2 separate regions of the Homo sapiens genome follow, and region 2 is linked to region 1. The links are contacts of gene promoters, found by promoter capture Hi-C in human tissues and cell types (Jung and others, 2019). All regions are on one chromosome and are shown on one strand. The core of a region is centred on a gene start or on the middle of the fragment in contact, and the rest is flanking DNA. Distances in the headings are between cores, read along the strand shown. Region 1 holds the start of AGFG1 (ArfGAP with FG repeats 1). Region 2 overlaps DAW1 (dynein assembly factor with WD repeats 1).

The links. Contacts are between HindIII fragments. The study calls those that stand out against the background at their distance.
Region 2: a fragment that was not itself captured here is called in contact with the fragment with the promoter of AGFG1 in region 1 in 1 of the 25 tissues and cell types used here (ovary).

The regions. Positions count from the first base shown.
Region 1 is chr2:227,469,410-227,474,012 of GRCh38, forward strand. AGFG1 (ArfGAP with FG repeats 1) reads left to right here and starts at 2,747. Exons shown (of 13, transcript NM_004504.5): 1 at 2,747-3,179. The coding sequence starts at 3,013. MIR5703 (microRNA 5703) reads left to right here and starts at 2,723; the gene lies at 2,723-2,778. LOC124907994 (a long non-coding RNA gene) reads right to left here and starts at 2,690. Exons shown (of 2, transcript XR_007088114.1): 1 at 1,751-2,690; 2 at 1,379-1,580. RefSeq lists an enhancer at 1,660-2,623 and a silencer at 2,736-3,455. The HindIII fragment of the contact is 8,030 bases long and covers 1-4,603 here.
Region 2 is chr2:227,887,885-227,892,487 of GRCh38, forward strand. It overlaps DAW1 (dynein assembly factor with WD repeats 1), which reads left to right. Exons shown (of 13, transcript NM_178821.3): 3 at 1,972-2,116; 4 at 3,371-3,429. Among named protein-coding and RNA genes, the nearest start is that of DAW1, 19 kb to the left of the region's middle. The HindIII fragment of the contact is 3,680 bases long and covers 718-4,397 here.

The sequences.
Region 1 (4,603 bases), core at 1,497-3,996:
AAATGAAGGAATGGTAGAATTAGTTTTATTTATTTATTTATTTTTATTTTTTATTTTTTTGAGACAGAGTCTCATTCTGTCACCCAGGCTGGAGTGCAGTGGTGGGATCTCAGCTCACTGCAACCTCCACCTCCTGGGTTCAAGCAATTCTCCTGCCCCAGCCTCCCGAGTAGCTGGGATTACAGGTGCCTGCCACCATGCTCAGCTAATTTTTGTATTTTTAGTAGAGACGGGGTTTCGCCATGTTGGCCAGGCTGGTCTCGAACTCCTGACCTTAGATGATCCTCCTGCCCCAGCCTCCCAAAGTTGCTGGGATTACAGGCGTGAGTCACCGCACCCAGCCAGAATGGCAGAATTAGAATATCAGTATTTTCTAATCATTAATGAATTAATGAATCTAGACATTAATCATCAATGGTTACCAACATCATGAAAAAGATATCCTCTCCTCAATTATGTCCCTCTTGATGGAAGAACACAATGAAATGAATGCCTGCCCCGCAAAAATACTGAACTGGATACTAGTGAACTAGATCTAACTACCAATTTTTAGGAAATAGAACAGAGGGACATGTTAAATGATACAGATTATGAGAAACTCTACAGAATAAAGTGCCCAATTACTAAAACAAATGAATTATAATTAAAAAAAAAGAGATGGTGGAGAGACCCAAAGAAACCTTATGAGACATATTACCCAGTTGCAAGGAGTGGGTTCAAACAAACTGTAAAAATCTCATTAAAATATTGATAATTGCCAACTTAAACACTAGTGCGATATTTGATGATCTTTAGGAGTTATTAACTTTTTTTTTTTTGAGGCGGAGTCTTGCTCTATTGCCCAGGTTGGAGTGCAGTGGCACAATCTTGGCTCACTGCCACCTCTGCCTCCCAGGTTCAAGTGATTCTCCTGCCTCAGCTTCCCAAGTAGCTGGGACTACAAGTGCATGCCACCATGCCTGGCTAATTTTCATATTTTTAGTAGAGACCCGGTTTCGCCATGTAGGCCAGGCTGGTCCTGAACTCCTGACCTCAGGTAATCCACCTGCCTTGGCCTCCCACAGTGCTGGGATTACAGGTGTGCGCCATCGTGCCCAGCCTATTGTTAACTTTTTAGATATGCTAACGGTATCATGGCTAAGTTTGAAAGAGATAAAGTTTTTATTTTTTAGGGATACAAATGGAACTATGTACCATTTAGATGAATGGTACGAAACCTAGAATTTGCTTTAAAATAATAGGAGAGGGGATGGAGGGTTGAGGTATTTATAAAGCAAGATTAGCCATGGGCTTAATCATTGCTGAAAGTGGTCCATGGGCTCATGGTAGTTTGATATTTTCCATAATAGAAAAGTTTAAAAACATTCATTGGCCAATCTATCTGTCCATTTCTTTTAATATTAAAAACATTAATTATTATTAGTAGTATTATATTAATATGAAGTCTCACTTTGTTGATTCACCCAATCCCTTTCATGAGAGATGTGGAGGTTGGTCTTGGCTGTTAGGAAACGTAGATTCTAATCCATTCAACAGCCCAGTGATTTGAGAACTTCAGCTCTCTGGGTCTCCCTGTACTCCTTTGGAAAACGAGAGACGAAGTTGATTGTTGCAGTGGGGATTTGGGTCCTGCAGTCTGGCTGTCTGGGTTGGAATTGAGCTTCGCCATAGGTACCCTTGGGTAAATTTACTTAATCCCTCAGGGTTTCATCTTCCTGTTTTGTAAAATGTAAATAACAATAACGCTCACCTCGAAGGGTTGTTGTGAAGATTACATGAACGATTTCATGTATTCATTCCGTCAACATTGAACACCTAGTCTCCAGCTCTGCGAGGGGAATGGGGTGGAGTGGCACAGAAAATACGGGGGCCAGGCTGTTTAGCGCCTAAAGGGAGAGTCCAGATCACCCATGGTAAACACGAAATAAGATGCAGTATTTCAAATAGCTAGAACTGAGACGAAAATACAACGCAGCAATTTGATGGAGAGCAACTTCGAGAAAGGTGAGCTGCAACATTAACTCGGCTGATCTGGGACAGTCTGGCGGGGGAGGTGACATCTGAGCCCCACCTGACTTAGAGGATGTCAGCTATGGATGATCCGGGTTTCCACACGCAGCAGTTCTCAAGCCAGGTGACTGCACCGCCCTAAAGTTCCCTCCACTTTTGGCAATGTCTGGGGATTTTTGGTTGCCAGCAATGGGAATTGGGGGGTTTGTTCTTGTATCTAGTGGGTATAGGCTAGGAACGCCGCCCAGTATCCTACAGTGCACAGGACACCCCAAGCCCCCCCAAATTAGCTGGCCCAAAGATAAAGAGAGAAGAGCAAGGGCAAAGGTCCTGCAGGAGTCAGAAAGGAGCTTGCTGTGTTCAGAAAACTCAAAATCCAGTGTGGCTGAGTGAGGACGACGAAGAATGAGGTAGACTGGGCTAGACTATGGAGCACTTTTTACGGCACGGTGAGGAATTTGGAATTATACTCAAAGCAGTGGAAAGCCCTTGAAGAGTTTTAAACAGAAGGGGAAGGTAACCCATGTGAAACGCTTTGCATATATAAGCGCTCAATAAATACTGTCTATTATTAATATTATTATCACCATTGTGTCTACCCTACTTGGCTCCAGACCCGGCCCATGCCTCAGCGAGGCCGCAGTGACTCCTCCTGGCCAGCAGAGGGCGCCAGCGGACACTTGGCTACCGGCCGCCCAGGGCGGGCCTCCTCTTGCCGTCCCCTTCCTCGTCTTTTCCCCTCAGGAGAAGTCGGGAAGGTGGCGGCGGCGGCGGCGGTTGTCCCGGCTGTGCCGGTTGGTGTGGCCCGTCAGCCCGCGTACCACAGCGCCCGGGCCGCGTCGAGCCCAGTACAGCCAAGCCGCTGCGGCCGGGTCCGGCGCGGGCGGCGCGCGCAGACGGAGGGCGGCGGCCGCGGCCAGGGCGGCCCGTGGGACCGCGGGCCCCCGGCGCAGCGCTGCCCGGCTCCCGGCCCTGCCGGCCTCCTCCCTTGGCGCCGCGGCCATGGCGGCCAGCGCGAAGCGGAAGCAGGAGGAGAAGCACCTGAAGATGCTGCGGGACATGACCGGCCTCCCGCACAACCGAAAGTGCTTCGACTGCGACCAGCGCGGCCCCACCTACGTTAACATGACGGTCGGCTCCTTCGTGTGTACCTCCTGCTCCGGCAGCCTGTGAGTGCGGGGCGGCCGGGCGGGTGTCGGGCCCTTCCCGGGAGGTGGGGGAGCGGGCGGCGGGACCGGGACCCTTCCGGGGCTGGGAAAGAGCCGGGTGCCGTGGGAGGCGGTCGGGGGCGGCCGTTGGGCGCCGGCTGGCGGGCGCGGCGTGGGAGGCTGCGGGCTGGATGCGCAGGGCCCGGGCAGCCGGGCTGGGGATGCGTTTTCGGTTTTGCCGGGCGAGGGTTTACGTTCTGGGCAGCCTTCGTGGGTGGGACGTGGGCGGGGTTGGGGTCAGGGAGGGGGCGACCGGGGCGAGCGTCCCTGGTCTCCGTCGAGCCTGCGGCCGCCGCCCTCGCTCTCCAGCTACCCGGGGCGCCGGGCTGTGGGGGGTGGGGGAAGACGCTAGGAGGCCGGGGGGGAGGTCCATGCGGGTCCTTTGTGTGCCCCGCCTCTCAGCGGCCCGGGAGCCGCGGTGCGGAGCGAGGCACCTGCTGGGCGCTCCTGCTGGGGGTCGGGGAGAAGCTGGGGTGGGAGGGAGGGACGCCTGCCTCGCCCGTGCCTTTTTTCTGGGTCGAGAGTACCTACGTAACTGGGAGGAAGCAGGCACTTAGGAATAGTAGCAGGATGAAAGCATCTTGATGGCAGATGTGAATCCCCTGGGAAAAGTTCGAAAGGATTAATTGCGGGAGGGGGAGGCAGAGGAGCAGATTTGAAGCTGTGGGATTTTAGTTTTATGGTCCGAAGAGAGTGTTGAGGAGTTGGGGGAAAGTTTTAATGGCAATAAGGTACCCACTAGGAGCTGTGTGATTCTAAATATGATGGAGTTATCTGTGAGATTTATCTGTATCTCGCTATCAATACCCGAGTGCCCTGGCTGTACACAGAAATGAGGAGAGCTAGCAAGTCACCATGATTTCAGAAAGACACTACCGTCCTGAGTTACTGGGATGATTTGTGTTTGTTGTTCTTTGCTTCATTAAGCTTTATTTTGATAAAGATTTTTATTGCCGTGCAATTTCATTCGGAAAATTTGCAGGTGGTTTTGGAATTGATAAAATGCTTTTATATTATTATCTTGTATTTAAAGTTACTAACAACGTGGCAGTTACTAAGTATTTTTAAAACCTTTGCTTGTAAGATTAATACAAAGCACATAATACTTTATGTGGGAAAATTGATTTCTTAAAACTTAGAAAATGCAGAACATGTCTAGTATGTACTATTTGCTTTTTAAAGTTGGGCAAAGAGGCATTATTAGTATTACATGAGTGTTATTTCTTCAGCAGACATTTTTTTTGGTGCCTATTAGGTTGTGTAAGGCCCTGGGGTGTGCCAGTAAATATAGCAAAGTCTTGTTCTCTTGGTTCTTACAGTCCAGTGGGGATGCAAAAGTAAGAAAAATGTCTTGGGCAAGTACTATGCTGAACATGAAAATTGTT
Region 2 (4,603 bases), core at 1,308-3,807, 420 kb after region 1:
GCTGGAATTATTGCATGAAAATCCTACAGGGTTGGAGCGTGTAGATTATCTGGTTAATTTGGATCTTGCGAGGAAATCTGTTTTTATATAAGTTGTTGAAAACGTTTCAAAGGGGCATTTTTACCCTTTTAATTGTTATGAAATTAATTATCTTTTTGACAATGAAATATCTCAGGGTTTATCCAAGTTATTATTATGGATGGTTCCTGGTTCATTTTTGTTCAAAATATTCACTCCTAATCTAATAGATTATGTTTCTTGAGAGCTGGGACCATATCTTTTACACACCCAGTGCTAAAGCAATAGTACCAACTCAATAAATGTCAATTGAATGAGCAGGTTCCTAGCTCGGTGCCTTGCACAAAACTGGAGCTTAATGTTTGTTGATGAGGTGAAGAGGGGGATACTTATCAGGGGCCACATTCATGGGAATTGGATACTGAGACAGAAGTGGGTGAGTCAAAGGTTTATTGGGCAGTGACACTTGTGACAGTCCAGGGCATGAAGCAGAAGCAGGATCAGGCGGGAGGAGCCATCTGACCTCGATGAAGAAGGCGGGACAACAGAATCTCTGCCAATCTGGAAGAGCTCAGGAGCAAAACTTGCCAGCTAGAGGAGTGCCTCACAGGGAGAAACGGCCAGGCTCTTGCTCTGCCCCTGCTCAGCTGTGGACGGAGAGCCACCAGAGAAGAGGCAGCCCTGGCCTGGAATGCCAAGGTACAGCCTGAAAGAGCTGCAGCTAGAAGCTGTCAGGCAACAAAGCTCCAACCCTGACTCTGGGCTTGATTCTTTCTTAAAGGTGGGGGAATCTGCATAGTGCATCTTCTGGACACGTGTGTGACATGATTTGTGAAATGGCTCTTTTTTGGATGCTTCATGGTGTATATACATTGATACCTTTTTTTGAACGAATATTATTCTGTGCCAGCAACATTTTTCAGAATTTCTATGAATTATTTGAATGCTAGAGAAAATTTGAATCTATCTGTATATTTTTCAGACCAGTTATCTTTCAGGGAAACAATATTTTAGTCTATAATAAATATTAATATTAGTCTTATGATGCTTTAAATTTATGGTTAGGCATTTTTCTCTTTTCCTAAAAATATTTTAAATCTAATCTTTCTGAACCTCAGTTTCTTCATCTCTAAAATAATTATGATAAAAGCATTACATTAGCAGATTGTTACAGGATTAAATAAGAGAACATATGTAAAGTGAAAAGTATGCTGCTGGGAACATTCAATACATGTTCATTCAAAAGAAACAGGAAAGAAAGAAAAAGAGCTCATGTTCAGAACTAGTATGGACTAGGCCTTCCTAGGTGTCTTCATTCATTTTGTGCTGCCATAAAAAGAAAGACCTGAAACAGGGTTATTTGTTTCTCGTAGTTCTGACTGAGAAATCCAAGATCAAGGCCCCTACAAGTTTGGCATCTGATGAGGGCTGCACTCTGCTTCCAGGATGGCACCTTGATGCTGCGTCTTCACATGGCAGAGGGCAGAAGGGCAAAAGGGATGAACTCTCTTTGTCAAGCCTTGTTATCAGGGCTTCTAATCCCATTCAGAAGGGCTCCACCATTGTGACTTAATTACCTATTCAGGCCGCACCTCTTAATGCTGTGACATTGGTGAACATGTTTCAGCATGAATTTTAGAGCGGACGCAAACATTCAAACCACAACACTAGGTGAGAACATTAGACTCTTGGCACACCCTCCATGAAACAAGCCTTAGCTTTGGAAAAATATGTTGTAGAAAATCCAAGCTTCTTGCTTTCCTGCCATCATCTATTTACTGATTTGTATGATCCTCCCCGCCCCACCCCCAGATATCTCTTGGGAAAGATAATGGTGTTTTTGACATTTTATAAATGTGCTTCATGAAGCAATACAATCAATTCTTCATGTAATATAGGTATATGCAAATTTTGACATAAAATAAAAGAAACTCTTTTTTGGGTGTATTTCAGCACTGATGTCAGTGCGTTAGTAGAAGAAATCCAGAAGGCAGAACCTCTACTCACAGCTTCACGAACAGAGCAAGTCAAACTTTTGATACAGAGGTTGCAAGAGAAACTCGGCCAGAACAGCAATCACACGTTCTATCTTTTTAAGGTAATGGATTTAAAAACAATCAGATAGAAGAATTTCAGTGAAATGATTGATATTTTATTAATTTTTCTTTCCCTAAAAATATTTTTTCATGAAAAAGGCATGTCAGTGATTGATTGTAGTGCCTCACATATGTTTGCTAAGATTGTCCCAATAATTATTTGTTAAATGAATGAGTGAAATCCAAAACACTTATTCCTTGAGAGGTTAAATAAAGATTTCAGCTCTTCATATAATGATAAATTTAAAGGGTTATTATTATTAAGATAGTTTTAAGTTATGGAATAACTAAAGCTTTTTTTCTAGTTAAAGTAACGTTAAGAAGTTGTGTTTTATGACAAATCAACATTTCGTATTTTCTGCTTTCATGTGAACTAAACCATATTTCAGTAAATTATTTATTTGTATGACATATAATTTTAATGTGATGTAAATATGCTTTTTAAATAGTTTTTTTGATGATTAAATATAGCAAATATAGTCGTTTAGTACTTCAAGGAAAGCTTTTAATTTTCCTTTGTCATTACCTTAGAATTACTTCATATTACACTGCTTTTATCTTTTATGATTTAAATATAATTATGATAGTAACATATAATTATTAGTTATAGACTCACCTGATACAAAATATCCAGGCATTCGTTTCTGGAAGAGGATGTTATAGTCTTGTAACATTTCTTTGTCCAGTAGGTGGCACTGTTTAATTTCAAATATGAGCTGTATAACTAGCGTGTCTCAATTTATTCTCCAAAGGGAACATTTTTGATGGTGAAAGTAGATGCTATTCATAGTTACATTTTGGTAACAGACATAACTTGGACTGTCCCAGCCCAGCCAATCACTCTTAATAGATTGTCCAATTTATGTATATGCATTCAATAAATATTCATTAAACATTCACTGTATGTTAGATGTTGTAGGGATTGAAAGATAAGGAAGACATATTCTGACACTAAAGGAGCTTCAGGATTCATAAAGTCATAATACATTGTCAAATCTTTATTGAAACATATTTAGTGTATTTCCTACATACCCAGTTTATACATGTATACAAAACCACATGCCATATGTAAAAGAAAATGTTACAAATTAGTGCTATCAATAAGATGCCACATAGCACTGTCTAAAGGTAAATCAGATATTGCCTGTTTCTGATGTATAATTAAGAAAAAATTGAATGTCTTCATTGGTTTGAAGTTATAACTAACAAATTTAATTTGGTTTGAGTCTAAAAAATGGTGTTTTCTTTCACTGAAGGTTCTCAAAGCACATATATTGCCACTGACTAATGTTGCACTTAACAAATCGGGCTCATGGTAAGATTCTCTTTTTATGTCTAATTTTTAGCAGTGAAACAAATTTCTGTGTTTATTTATCAAAGATTCCAGTTAGATAAGTACATAATATATTCATTTTTCTGATTTCAGTACTCCCTTGGATACTGAGGAGAAATATAAACCCTTTCTCCCACTCTTCTAATCTGAGTTTTCTGTCGTATTTGTGCTGCAGTGAATGGGAGGCATATTGGGTTCTCAGCAAATGTAGCTACTGAAGAACTCAACTCAGGAATGAGTCGGGCAGGGTGGCCTCATATCTAACTTGGTTGGTTGTGATCAGTCTATTCAGAGCAGGCACTTTCCATCTAGGTCAGTGATTTGGGGTATGGCAAACAGCAGCTTCAAGTCTCTGTTGAGAGCATGGCTGTGATCAGCTTGGGAGCTGACGTGCTAGGTAGGAGAGATGAGGGAGAAGTCTCGTCTTGACCTACAGACATAAAATAAACACAAACTAGACATAAAATAAGCAGTTTGCTAAGGCTTCCATAATAAGGTAGCACAAACTGAGTGGCTTACACAACCAAAATGTATTGTGTCACAGTTGGGGAGGTTAGAGGTCAGAGGTCAAGGTGTCATCAGGGTCAGTTCCTTCTGAGGCCTTGGGAAAGAAGCTGTTCCACAGCTCCTGTAGCTTCTGGTGGTTTGCTGGCAATCTTTGGTGTGGAGAAGCATCACCCTGAGCTCTGCCCTCATCTTCACATGGTTTTCCCTGTGCATGTCTGTGCCTATATGGCCTGTTCTTATAAGGATGTATTGAACTAGGGCCCACCCTACTGCGGCATGATCTCATCCTAACTTAATAATTTTTTTTTTTTGAGATGGAGTTTCACTCTTGTTGCTCAGGCTGGAGTGCAATGGCACGATCTTGGCTCACTGCAACCTCCAGCTCTAGGGTTCAAGCAATTCTCCTGCCTCAGCCTCCTGAGTAGCTGGGATTACAGGTGCCTGCCACCACGCCCAGCTAATTTTTTGTATTTTTAGCAGAGACGGGGTTTCTCCATGTTGGTCAGGCTGGTCTCGAACACCTGACCTCAGGTGATCTGCCCAACTTGGCCTCCCAAAGTGCTGAGATTACAGGCGTGAGCCACCACGCCCAGCCGTAACTTAACTATTAATAATTATATCTGCAAGATCTTATTTCCAAATACATTCA